2 separate regions of the Homo sapiens genome follow, and region 2 is linked to region 1. Evidence: promoter capture Hi-C in human tissues and cell types (Jung and others, 2019). All regions are on one chromosome and are shown on one strand. Each heading gives the region's core, a stretch centred on a gene start or on the middle of the fragment in contact. The rest is flanking DNA. Distances are from core to core; before and after follow the strand shown. Region 1 has its middle 7.4 kb from the start of DIPK1B. Region 2 holds the start of CLIC3 (chloride intracellular channel 3).

Region 1 (6,838 bases), core at 3,056-5,555:
TCCTGGGAACCCGCCTGAGGTTCCCAGCCCTGGCCTCTCTAAGGATCCAGCCCTTTTCCCCGTTCTCAGCCCTGCCTCCCTTCTCTAGTGCCTTCTTGCTGCGTCCTGACGCGAGGGTGGGATAAGGAATAAGGGGAGGGCACCTGTGCCCTTTCTACTAAGGCCCACCCTCATGACCTCATCCACCCCCAGGCACCTCCCATAGGCTACATCGTCAATACCCTCTCCTTGCAGGTTAGGGCTTCCAGGAAGGAATTTAGTGGGGACACGATTCAGTCCCCCCACTTACACCTTTGCAAATAGCAAGAGAGGGCTGGATATGGTGGCTCACGTCTGTAATCCCAGCACTTTCGGAGGCCAAGGCGGGTGGACCACCTGAGGTCAGGGGTTCGAGACCAGCCTGGCCAACATGGTGAAACTCCATCTCTACTAAAAATACAAAAAATTAGCCGGGCATGGTGGTGCGCGCCTGTAGTCCCAGCTACTCAGGAGGCTGAGGCAGGAGAATTGCTTGAACCTGGGAGGTGGAGGTTGCAGTGAGCCGAGATCGTGCCACTGCACTCCAGCCTGGGTGACAAAAGTGAAACTCTGTCTCGGATAAAAAAAAAAAAAATAGCAAGAGAGGTTCAATCACCTATACATGGAAGGAACACAGGGAGATTGACACACACACACACACACGCACGCGGGCACACACCCATGTGCACACACACACACAGAGCTAAATGACAAAAATGAAAATGGTACCACACTGCACGTGCTGCCCTGCACCTTGATTTTGATACTGCAGTGGGTTAAATGGTGCCCCCCAAAAGATAAGTCCCCCTGGAATGTGTAAATGTAACTTTCTGTGGAAATGGGGTCTTTACAGCTGTAATTAGGTTAAAGACCTCGAGTGAGATCAATTTTGCCTTTTTTTTTTTTTTTTTTTTTTTGAGATGGAGTCTCACTCTGTCACCCAGGCTGGAGTAAAATGGCGCGATCTCGGCTCTCTGCAACCTCCGTCTCCCCGGTTCCCGCGATTCTCCTGCCTCGGCCTCCCGAGTAGCTGGGATTATAGGCGCCCACCACCACACCCAGCTAATATTTGTATTTTTAGTAGAGATGGGTTTTCACCATGTTGGCCAGGCTGGTCTCAAACTCTTGACCTCAGGTGATCTGCCCGCCTCGGCCTCCCAAAGTGCTGGGATTACAGGTGTGAGCCACTGCACCTGTATAGTTCAAGATAGTTTTACAAGATGGAAAAGTTCTGGAGCCAGATGGCAGTGAGGGCTGTACAACAATGTGAACATACCTAATGTCACTGACTGTGTGCTTAAAAATGATTTAGAGGGCCGGGCGCGGTGGCTCACGCCTGTAACCCCAGCACTCTGGGAGGCCAAGGCGGGTGGATCACCTGAGGTCAGGAGTTCGAGACCAGCCTGGCCAACAAGGTGAAATCCCATCTCTACTAAAACTACAAAAAATTAGCTGGGCCTGGTGGCAGATGCCTGTAATCCCAGCTACTCGGGAGGCTGAGGCAGGAGAATTGCTTGAACCAGGGAGGCGGAGGTTGCGGTGAGCCGAGATCACACCACAGCACTCCAATCTGGGCGACAAGAGCGAGACTCTGTCTCAAAAGAAAGAAAGAGAGAAAGAAAAGATGTGTCTCTGCGAGCAGAAGGTCTTGCCGCTCTGACAGTCACAGATGTGTAGGTCTCCTGACCGCAGCTGCACTCCCACCGAGGGCAGAAACTAGGAAGTCCTTGGAGCTTTGGTTCCCTTGACAGATGGGGGTGGAGCCCCCAGTGTTATTAAGGAGGCATGGCCCAGCTGCTCCTGCACCTTTCCAGCCAACTCTAGATCTGTCCTGGGGGCACAGTGAAAGGTCTCTGAAGTCTGTGGCATGTCCTGCTGCTCTAAGGGGGGCTCTGGCCCATTTCAGGAGGTTTTGCTGACAGACAAACTCACAGGAAGCCACAGTTGAGACACGGGGTTTGCAGTCCTGGTGAAGGGAAAGTGACTGTCCTAGTCAGCTTTGACAAAACACCACAAGCCAGGTGGCTTACAAACAATGGAAATGCATTTCTCACAGTGATGGAGGCCAGAAAGTCCAATATCGAGGTGCAGGCAGATTCCGTGTCTGGTGAGCGCCCGCCTCCTGATAGACGTCACGTGGTGAATGCAGTCAGGGGTCTCCTGGCAGCCGGGGTGGGGGTCTCTTCTTTTTTTTTTTTGAGATGGAGTTTCGCTCTTGTTGCCCAGGTTGGAGTGTAATGGCGCAATCTTGGCTCACTGCAACCTCCGCCTCCCGGGTTCAAGTGACTCTCCTGCCCCAGCCTCCCGAGTAGCTGGGATTACAGGTGCCCGCCACCACCCCAGGCTGATTTTTGTATTTTTAGTAGAGACGGGGTTTCACCATGTTGGCCAGGCCGATCTCGAACTCCTGACCTCAGGTGATTCACCTGCCTCGGCCTCCCAAAGTGCTGGGATTACAGGCTTGAGGCCCCGTGCCCGGCCAGGGGTCTCCTTTATAAAGGCCCTGATCTCATTCATGAGAACTCCACCCTTATGACCTTGTCACCTCCCAAAGGCACCACCTCCCAAAACCATCTATATTAGTCCATTCTCACATGGGTACAAAGAAATACCTGAGACTGGGTAATTTAGAAAGAAAAGAGGTTGAATTGGCCCACAGTTCCTCAGACTGTACAGAAAGCATAGCGGCTTCTGCTTTTGGGGAGGCCTCAGGAAACATCATCGTGGCAGAAGGTGAAGGGGACACAGGTGTGTCCTACGTGGCTGGAGCAGGAGGAAGAGGCACCACTGAATTTTATTTATTTATATTTATCTATTTATTTATTTTGAGATGAGTTTTGCTCTTGTCACCCAGGCTGGAGTGCAGTGACACGATCTTGACTCACTGCAACCCCTGCTTCCCAGGTTCAAGCGATTCTTCTGCCTCAGCCTCCCGAGTAGCTGGGACTACATGCACCTGCCACCATGCGTGGCTAATTTCTGTATTTTTGGTAGAGAAGGACTTTCACCATGGTGGCCAGGCTGGTCTGGAACTCCTGACCTCAGGTGATCTGCCCGCCTCGGCCTCCCAAAAGGCTGGGATTACAGGCGTGAGCCACCATGCCCTGCCCGGCTAGATTAAAGTTGTTTAAAGCAAAATAAGGAGCAGTCATTGCCTGAGGCCGTCTCTGTACTGGGAGTTCCCACTAACCAACAACAACTTTATTCAGTAGTTTGTTAACAGATAGCCAGGTTTCAACCAATCAATCACGGGCAGCCAACCAATCAGACCACACCCAAATAAGGCAAAGGTCTTGAGTTATTTCTTTTCTTTTTTTTTTCTTTTTCTTTTTTTTTTTTTTTTTTGAGACAGAGTCATGCTCTGTTGCTCAGGCTGGAGTGCAGTGGTGTGATCTCGGCTCACTGCAACCTCCGCCTCCTGGGTTCAAGCGATTCTCCTGCCTCAGCCTCCCGATTAGCTGGGATTACAGGTGCACACCACCATGCCCAGCTAATTTTTGTATTTTTAGTAAAGACGGGGTTTCACCATGTTGGCCAGGCTGGTCTTGAACTCCTGACCTCATGTGATCTGCCTGCCTCGGCCTCCCAAACTGCTGGGATTACAGGTGTGAGCCACGGTGCCTAGCCTGGCCTTGAGTTATTTCCGTACTTCACTTCCACATTCAGCCTGTAAAAGCCTGCTGCTCACACTGCTAAGACAGAGCTCCCAGAGCCTCTTCCACCTTTGAGTGCTGCCTGATTCATGCCTCCTTTAATGCTCAAATCAACTCTGTTACATCTATTTTGTCTAAAGTAGGAAGAATCCTCAAATAAGATTGCCACTGGGACACCAAGCTCGAGTTGGCCAAATGGTGCAAACTCCACAGATCCAGCTGAAAACAACATGGCAATGGCTACTAAGCCATGGGGCTCCCAAAACTGAAGTAGATGGGTCAGCTGTGAGAAGCTCACTGCCTGGTACGGAGCATTGGATGGATTGAAAATCATGGAACAGTCCCTGGCTGAGTCATGAGCCGTTGCCACGCTGCCTGAAAATAAACGCAGAACCTTGTTCATGGACTTCCTCCTTCCACCTCTCACCCCCCTCCACTTACGTTAGGAAGAAAGATGATTAGAGGTTCCCAGGCCGTGGGCACCATCCAAGTGTGCTGGAGAACTTGGAGGAGAAGAAGAACTCAAACTTTATGGCTCTGTCGGATATGAGTAGCCCACATCACTCTCCTGTTTGGACCAGTGGAAGGAAAAGTTCTCTGGATTCCGCTCACCGGATTTGTGCACGGTTTGAAATGGGGAGTGAAGGCTGATGTGATCTTGTGGGTGTGGCATTTTGGGCCAATTCGATGCCCTGTTTTTGATGCTTCTATGTGTGTGTTGCCGCGTAGGAGCTGTGTTTCATCCCCATACTTCCATCCTGTACGTGCCAGAGGGGACTCTCCCTATTGGCAAGCACTGAATGCAGAGAAGGGCCAGTGGGATGTGTGAATCTCTCTGCAACCCGCTTTCAGGGCGGGTACAGAATCCCAGAAGCGGTACAGAATCCCAGAGGGAAAAAGGCGCATCAGAGGTTTGATTGAGGGATTAAGGGCAGTAGGGGGACTAAGAGATGAAATATGGGGCTGGGCGTGGTGGCTCACGCCTGTAATCCCAGCACTTTGAGAGACTGAGGCCGGTAGATCACTTGACACCAGGAGTTAGAGACCAGCCTGGTCAACATGGTGAAACCCCGTCTCTACTAAAAATACAAAAAAATTAGCCAGGTGTGGTGGCGGGCACCTATAGTCCCAGCTATTCGGGAGGCTGAGGCATAAGAATCCCTTGAACCCATCACTTGAACCCGGGAGGTGGAGGTTGCAGTGAGCCGAGATCGTGCCACTGCACTCCAGCCTGGACAACAGGGTGAGAGTCTGCCTCAAAAAAATAAAGGCTGGTCGTGGTGGCTCAAGCTTCTAATCCCAGCACTTTGGGAAGCCGAGGCGGGTGAATCATCTGAGGTCAGGAGTTCAAGACCAGCCTGGCCAACATGGAGAAACCCAGTCTCTACTAAAACTACAAAAATTAGCTGGGCATAGTGGCGGGCCCCTATAGTTCCAGCTACTCGCGAGGCTGAGGCAGGAGAATCATGTGAACCCAGGAGGCAGAGGCTGCAGTGAGCCGAGATCACGCCACTGCACTCCAGCCTGGGTGACAATCACTGGGTGACACTCCGTGTCAAAAAAAAAAAAAAGAGATGAAATATGGCAACACAACATCCCTGAGTGGCCAGTGGAGCAGGTAAGAGCTGCTGGTGGCTGACAGTGGATTACCACCAACAGAAGTCAGCCATTGCTCCCAGAGCCCTAGCTGTCCTACACACTGTGACCATACCGAGCCCATCACGTGGGCTCCGGGTACTTGGTACACTGTCTTGGATCCTGCCAATGCCTTTTTGCCACACCACTGGCAGGGGAGGAGCAAGACCAGCTTGCATTCACATGGCCAGGTCTCCAATACACTTAGGTGTGTTCCCCGTACACGCCCCGCCACTGGCCACCTGTGGGCAGGTTAGGACTTCTGATGTCCACAGGTGCCATGATACAGATGATGTCCTGCAGGTTGGCAGCTCAGAAGCCTTGGGTCTCTAGAACTAGACAACTAGACGGGGGTACTCTCATACCTCCCTGTCCACAGAGGCAGGCAAAACATCAACAGCGTCCAGTGGCTGCCTCACCAGGTGGAGTTTCTTGGGATGAGGTAGGTGGAGGTGGGTCCACAGCACTCACTGCCTCAGCCAGTCAAGGAAAACCTGTTGTCTCTTTGCTCCCTCATCTCACCCAAAAGGACAACCCAGCACTTGATTGGACTGTGTGGGTGTTGGAGACAGGATGTGCTTCATTTGGGCATTCGACTTGGCTTCTTAAATTAGTGAATCCAGGTCGGGCGAGGTGGCTCACGCCGGTAATCCCAGAACTTTGGGAGGCCGAGGGGGGTGGACCACCTGAGGTCAGGAATTTGAGACCAGCCTGGCCAACATAGCAAAACCCTGTCTCTACTAAAAATATAAAAATTAGCCAGACGTGGTGGTGTGTGCCCGTAATCCCAGCTACTCGGGAGGCCGAGGCAGGAGAATCGCTTGCACCTGGGAGGTGGAGGTTGCAGTGAGCCGAGATCACACCACTACATTCCAGCCTGGGCAACAGAGTAAGACTTGGTATCAAAAAAATAATAATATAAATAAAATAAATTAGTGAACCCACAAATCAGCCTGCTTACGTCAGGGCCTGAACCAACAGGCTATTCCAGCTGCCGCCCCGTGAGCCACAGGCCACTCTCTCTCCCGCTGGGGCCTCACAGCCCTGTGATCCCTTTGAACGACAAGTCCCTGTGGCTGACGATCCCGTTATCTGGAAACTCCAGAGAAAGAAAACAGCCTCTGCCCAGATGTGCCCCTTGGGGTGGTGGATTCACTGACTCTCTGACACGACTACTAGGTTCACCCCTTGTTTTCAAAAAGCAAAATTAGCTTACAACGAGCTCTTGTCCCAGTGAACCACCTGACCACGGAGGCCTTGTGACTGGAGCCTGACAGTCCCATTCGGAGGGTTTTCAACTCAGACACAACCACCACAAGGAAGGAGGGCCCTAGAGCTTCTCTTTGCAAACAGAAGACTCTGTATTCAACAGCAGCGGGCGGGTCCCCGGTGATATGTCAGCTTCTCATCGGAAGTGGCAGCTCTCCCTTTGGGGGAAACTTGACGCGCCGCACTCCACCGTCTGAGGGAAAGCTCGTGGCTCTCCAGGGCCCTCGATCCACCAGGGCCCCCTAAACGGCTGCTCACCTGGT
Region 2 (6,838 bases), core at 1,312-3,811, 290 kb after region 1:
GGCCTGGGAAGGGATCAGGGAACACCCCTGGGCCTGTGTTCTGGGTGTAGGGCCACAGGATGTGAACAGATGCTGCAGCCTCTCAGCTCCCTGGAGACTTCCTTGCTGGGCCGGAGGGAGGTGAGCACTCTCAGACCGTCCAGCTATTCCAGCCCTGCCAGCCCAGGAGCTGAGAGGGGCCCAGCCAGGCAGGGCCAGGGCTCCCCAAGGCTTAGAACTTTGTTCCCACCCTCCCAGGCCGCACCCAGGTAGGGCACGGAGCCCCGTGGGAGGATGCAGACAGAAGTCCCGTGTAGACCCTGAGACACTGGAAGTGCCCTGCGGGGAGGGGAGCGCCTGCCCCGGGACAGGATTGAGGAATGTGCCAGCCCCCATCCACCTGGGGCACCCCGCCCCACCCCGGCCTGACTGGTTTGGGAGCCCAGTCCGGTCCTGGAGATCCCTGAGGCCACCGGTTGCAGGAGGCCTGGAGTCTGCGCCTTCTTAGCGTGGAGGATGGGACCGGCCCGACCCCCGGCGCTCCTGCCCCTGTGGTTCTGGGCTATCGGGCTGAGCGTCCCACCCTGGGGTTTGGGGATGGGAAGTGATCCCGAGACCTCTGGCCCTTCAGATGTCAGGACACCCTCACTCCCGACAAAGATGCCTTTATTGGGCGACAGACGCGGGGTGGGGCGCTAGCGGGGGTGCACGGCGGGCCGGTAGGCCGCCAGGATCTCGGCGCTGTGCGGACACGTGTATTTGAACTCTTTCTCCTGCATCGCGCTGTCCAGGTAGCGGCGTACGCCGCGCAGCTCCGCGGGGATGGGCGCCTGGCGGAAGTGCGCGCACACCGTCTGCGGGCAGGATCGCGGGGCGCGGTCAGGACCTGCCGTCCCCCAGGCGCGCCGCGGTCACCCTCCCGCCCGCCCACCTTCCGTGCTCACGTCGACGATGTGCAGCTTGGGCAGGAGGCTGCAGTCGGCCAGCGTGAGCCTGTCGCCGTCCAGGAAGCGGCGGCGGGACTCGCGCAGCTGCGGCTCCCCCGCCAGCTCGTGCTCCAGGGGCGCGCGCAGGTAGCTGTCCAGCCTGGCGAGGGCGCGCAGCAGCTGCTGGTACAGGGCTAGGGGGCAGGCGGCGCGGTGAGGACCAGGCCCAGGGCGCCCTCCCGCCTGGGCACCCGACCCCCTGACCCCGCTTCACCTTCGTCCTGCGCGGGCACCGGGTTCTTGATGAACGCGGAGAACTTGTGGAAAACGTCGTTGCCGGCGGTGTTGGACTCCCTGTAACGAGGCGCCAGGCTGGGGAAGCTGCGGGATGAGGGGGTGGGACTCCATTAGACTGGGGGCAGCCCCGTCCCGGCCCCACAGTACCCCCACAGCGCCTTCCTGGGCTCTGTCTTGCGCGCGTCCTCCCTGGGCCCCCCTCTTTTCCCCTCCCACCCTGCCGGGGCTCTCACTCGGGCGGCCCCAGCGTCTCCTCCAGAAAGTCCTCGATCTGCAGCGTGTCTGTCTTGGCGTCGCTGTCATAGAGCAGGATGGGCAGCTGCGAGCCGGGGGCGAAGTCCTTCAGCACGTCCGGGGACCTGCGGGCAGCAGCGGGGTGGGAGGAGGCCGGCCCACCAGTGTGCGAGGCCAGGCGGGGGTCCACAGGATGGGGCCTCACCTGCGCGTGTCCACCGTGGTGAGGGTGAAAGGTACGCCCTTGAGGAGCAGGACCATGAAGAGCCGCTGGCAGGAGGGGCAGTGACCCACGCTCTCCCCGTCCTCACTCGCCTGGGTGGGTGGAGCGGGGGTGGGGGGTCAGGGCTGGAAGCAGACCCAGGCATCCTGCCGCCAGGCTGGGCGGGACCCGCCTCCCACTGCCAGTGGGATTGGAGGGACGCCAGGGCTCCAGCTTGGTCGGCGCGACTTCCAAGTGCCCAGTGAGGGCCCTTGACTTGGTCCCCAGAACGTGGGGAGGGGGGCAGAGCTGCTGGGAGCCTTGAGGCCTGGGGCAGGCTTGGCCCCTGGAATCTTGTCAGAGCCTGGACAGAGGCCAGGCCCCTGGGCTCAGTCCCCAAAAGCTGGTTGCAGGGGTGGGGTGGGCCTCACAAGCTGTTTTCTGAGTGATTCACACATGAGACTGGGCACTGTGGCCAACAGCACATCAGTCCCCCACCCCAGTCCCCGACCTGAGAGCTGATGGGGCTGCCTGGCCCAGCACCCCCCATCCTGGAACACCGACCGTAAGCTCCACTGTTGGCAGCCTGCTTGGTACCTCCCCACCAAGGAGCTCTCCTCCAGAAGACTGGGCTGGGCCCAGGAGCCAAGGCTGGGAGCAGGACCAGGGCCACTGACCCCTCTCTGGGTGACTCGCTGGGTCCCACTTTACTCAGCCTCTGTAGGGCTGCCTGAGTCCCCCTAGCCACCCACAGGAAGGGGCTCAGACATTACTGGGAGGCCCACCCCACAGCCTGCCACAGAAAGCAAAGCCCAGAAAAGCGCTTCCTCCCAGACACCCTCCCCGCAGCTGAGTCCGCCCTGCACCTTGACAAACAGCTGGAGCTTGGTCTCCGCCATGGTGGGAGCTGCCGCGGTCAGGCGCGGGTGGGGACCTGGGGAGCTCTTTAAGTCTCCCTGTGCGCCCCGCCCTCCCTGGCCGAGGGGCCCGCCCCGTGGAGCCACCTAGGCGGGCAGATGAAGCTGCCCAGCGCGCAGAACCAGCTGCCTGAGCAACGCCAGCCCGGCCCCGGGGTGTCTGAGCCTGAGGGTGTGACCTCAGGGTGGCGGAATGGTGTGGGGGGCTGCCCTGGACTTGAGTCTGGTGTGCACGGAGATCCGCCCACCCGGTACTGAGTGTGCTGGGAGCCAGCGTGGTGGGTGGAGACCAGGGGGCAGGGCATAGGGAGAGCCTACAGGCCAGAAGGGTGCAGGGGGTGTCACCTGGGAAGGGGGCGGCTCTGGGTCAGGACCACCTCCACCGTGAACCCAGCTCAGACCCTGCCCTATGGCTCTCCCTTCCGCAAATACCCCTTGTCAGGGCTCCCAGCCCAGAAAGCCAGTGGGTGTGGGTGAGCAGGAGAAATGGCCTGCCCAGCCTGGCTTCAGTTCCCCATCTGCAGCACCAGGGCATCGGGAGGGTGATAAGCCCACCTGGGGGAGCCGCCCCTTCCCAGCTACGGAGCAGTCAGGCAGGGCCCTCCCCGCTCAGGGCAGGGCTCAAATTCCAGACCTGCCCGCAACAGGGCGGGGAGGCCAGCCTGGCTTTGGTGTTTGGCCGGCAGTGCAGGTCTCCACCCCACCTCCCATCCCTCCCACTGGCGCTCAGCGCAGGTTTCTTACCCCCAACCCCTTAACCTTTAAAAAGAAGCAGCAGGAGAGGGGTTAGAAGCCACAGCCTGCGTGGCTGGAAGAAAGAGGCCAGGGGAGGGTGGTGGTCCACAGGTGTGAGCCTGCGCTGAGCCTCCTGGCGTGATTGGAACCCACAGTTCAGTCTGGCCCTTTGGGGTCGCCAACTGTGCCTTCCTCCCACCTGGCCCTGACGCTTTAGGGTGCAGCCCCAGGGAGGTACACCGAGGGGAGATTCCACCCAGAGACCTGGGGTGCCCACAGGATTGGCCTGGCCACACCTCCCCCAGGCGGTGTGGTGCCTCACCAGCCTGGACAGGGCAGCTGAGGTGGCACTGCTCTCCTGCTCACCTTCTCCCCAGGGCCTTGGTACGGGCCCCTCATCCGTCCCCGGTGGAACACACTCCAGTGCTGCCCCAGTCAGCCCAGCCTGATGCTTCTCTGGATACCACGCCAGTCGGGGCTCCTGGACACAGAGCCTTGGAAATACCATGTGGCTGCCCCATCCTTTGGTGTCCTGAACCTCAATTTCCCTCCATCCGGCCTCCACCTCGATTCCAAGCCCTAGTATTTCAGCTCTTTCTGGACACTGTGGTTATAGCTCCGCTTGCTGGTTTCCCACATCCCTGGCAGGCAAATGGCCAACCACAGAGAAGCCCCAGGCCCCCAGCCCCCTCTGCTGCCCCGGCATCCTGTGTCTTTAACACCGACAGACGCACCCTCACAAACCCACAGGAAAAATGACGGCACGGACAGAGGCCGTGAACCGGTGGCTCAGAAGGAAAAAGAAAACAAGACACAGGAAGACCATTCACCTCACGCCCGTCTCAAGAAACAAACCAACAAGACTCGGTTCACCGCTGCAGCGGCCCCACTGCGTTCTGTGGGCGTGGGCTGTGGACTGTGGAGCGGCAGTGGCCATCCAACACCCCCCTGTGCCCTCGCCACCTGGGAATCAGCCCGGTGGCTTCCTTTTTTTTTTATGGTTTAATCAATTCATTTATTTACTAGAAACAGGGTCCTGCCATGTTGCCCAGGCTGGTCTCCACCTCATGGGCTCAAGTGACCCACCTGCCTTGGTCTCCCACAGTGCTGGAACTACAGGCGCGAGCTGCCACACCCGGCCGGTTTCCCTGTGAAGGGCAAGTGAGTGCTGGCTGCCCCACTGCGTGGCGTGGCGTGGCGTGGCGTGGCTCCGTGGCACGGCCACCACCCTGTCTATGGGAGACTCCAGTTGTGTCCAGGGAGAAGGACGGAAAAGGTGACTCCATGCATGCCCACTGCAGGGAGGGCCTGAGATTAGGTAAATGGCGTGGCTTGTGTCCCCTTAAATTTAAATTCTTAGGCTGGAGTCCTAACCCCTAGTGCCTCAGAATGTGACCTTATATGGGCCGGGCACGGTGACTCATGCCTGTAATCCCAGCAGTCTGGGAGGCCGAGGGGGGTGGATCACCTGAGGTCAGGAGTTTGAGACCAGCCTGACCAACATGGTGAAACCCCGTCTCTACTAAAAATACAAAAATTAGCCAGGCATAGTGGCAGGCACCTGTAATCCCAGCTACTCGGGAAGCTGAGGCAGGAGAAGTGCTTGAACCCGGGAGACAGAGTTGCAGTGAGCAGAGATAGTGCCACTGCATTCCAGCCTGGGCAACAGAGCAAGACTCCATCTTGGAAAAAAAATAAAGAATGTGACCTTATGTGGAAACAGGGGCTTTTTAACATTTTTTTTGAGACAGAGTCTTGCTCTGTTGCCCAGGCTGGAATGCAGTGGTGCAATCTCGGCTCACTGCAACTTCTGCCTCCTGGGTTCAAGCAATTCTACTTTCTCAGCCTCTGGAGTAGCTGGGATTACAGGTACACGTCACCACGCTGAGCTTTTTTTTTTTTTCCTTGTATTTGTAGTAGAGACAGGGTTTCACCATGTTGATCAGGCTGGTCTCGAACTCCTGACCTCAGAAGATCTACCCACCTTGGCCTCCCAAAATGCTGGGAATACAGGTGTGAGCCACCGCACCCGGCTGAAATAGGGTCTTTATAGAAGTTATCAAGTTAAAATGTGGTGAGTAGGATGTGCCCTGATCCAATATGACTGATGTCAGTATAGAAAGGCGAGTTTGGACACAGATGCACAGGGAGGGCCGCAGGCAGAAATCAGGGTGGCACATCTGTAAGCCTGGGAGCCAAGCGGATGCTCTCCAAGGCCCTTGGGAGGAAGCAGCCCTGCCCAAGCCTAGGTGCTATGTCTGACCTCCAGACTGCTAGGCAGTGAGCTTCTGTTTTTTTTGTTTTTTTTTTTTAATGAGATGCAGTCTTGCTCTGTCGCCCAGGCTGGAGTGCAGTGGCACAATCTCGGCTCACTGCAAGTTCTGCCTCCCCAGGTTCACGCCATTCTCCTGTCTCAGCCTCCCAAGTAGCTGGGACTACAGGCGCCCGCTACCACACCTGGCTAATTTTTGTATTTTTAGTAGAGACGGGGTTTCACTGCGTTAGCCAGGATGGTCTCGATCTCCTGACCTCGTGATCCGCTCGCCTCGGCCTCCCAAAGTGCTGGGATTACAGGCGTGAGCTCCCGCGCCCCGCGGTGTTGTTGTTTTAAGATGGAGTCTCACTGTCACCCAGGCTGGAGTGCAATGGCTCAATCTCGGCTCATTGCAACCCGCGCCTCACCGGCTGAAGCGATTCTCCTGCCCCAGCCTCCCGAGTAGCTGGGATTACAGGCGCCCACCACCACGCCTGGCTAATTTTTGTATTTTTAGTAGAGACGGGGTTTCACCATGTTGGTCAGGCTGGTCTCAAACTCCTGACCTCAAGTGATCCGCCCACCTCGGCCTCCCAAAGTCAGTTTCTGTTGTTTTAAACCCCTCACTTTGTGGTCCTTTGCATGGCAGCGCCAGCAAGCTAATAAGTAAAGCAGGGAGAAGCCAGGAAATGGAAGAAAATCAGCATTAGGATCTGTCATTCTGAGTCTCTACTTGAACAGAGCTGAAAAAAGACGCAAGGAGCTGTCTGTGGGATGACCCCTGACAGGCAGAAACAGGCTTTCAGTTTTGCTTCCTGTCTGTCCACACTGTTTGCATTTTCTACCACATTTTTGTAATACCACATTTTCTACCACAATTTCATAATGTTTTGAAGTAAGAACAGTATCACAGCCACTAACCTTAACTAGACCCTGGTCCCCGAGGCCACGGGGTTATCCCTAAACCTCCCGTCCCCTGCAGCCCCTGCTCCTGATTCATAGAGCCAGCGTTAGAGGGGCCCAAGCTGAGGTCCCGAGGCTGCTGCTCTGGGACTGACTGACTGGTGGGTTAGAACTCTCTCCCTCCCCAACACCCCTCCCTGTAGGCCCCTTCCAAGGGGCTCTTTTTTTTTTTTTTTTTTTTTTTTTTTGAGACAGGGTTTCACTCTGTCACCCAGGCTGGAGTGCAATGGCGCAGTCATAGCTCACTGCAGCCTCCACCTCCTGGGCTCCAGTGATCCTCCTGCCTCCGCCTGCACAGGGCCACACCCCAGTGACATTTGAGCAGCTCTGT

What was found. Contacts are between HindIII fragments. The study calls those that stand out against the background at their distance.
Region 2: a contact is called between the fragment with the promoter of CLIC3 here and a fragment that was not itself captured in region 1, in 1 of the 25 tissues and cell types used here (dorsolateral prefrontal cortex).

The regions. Positions count from the first base shown.
Region 1 is chr9:136,701,708-136,708,545 of GRCh38, forward strand. No RefSeq gene overlaps it. Among named protein-coding and RNA genes, the nearest start is that of DIPK1B, 7.4 kb to the right of the region's middle. The HindIII fragment of the contact is 6,599 bases long and covers 1,007-6,838 here.
Region 2 is chr9:136,994,007-137,000,844 of GRCh38, forward strand. CLIC3 (chloride intracellular channel 3) reads right to left here and starts at 2,562. Exons shown (of 6, transcript NM_004669.3): 1 at 2,505-2,562; 2 at 1,642-1,751; 3 at 1,436-1,561; 4 at 1,180-1,286; 5 at 924-1,099; 6 at 602-833. The coding sequence starts at 2,537. The coding sequence ends at 675. RefSeq lists an enhancer at 6,160-6,279. The HindIII fragment of the contact is 25,713 bases long and covers 1-6,838 here.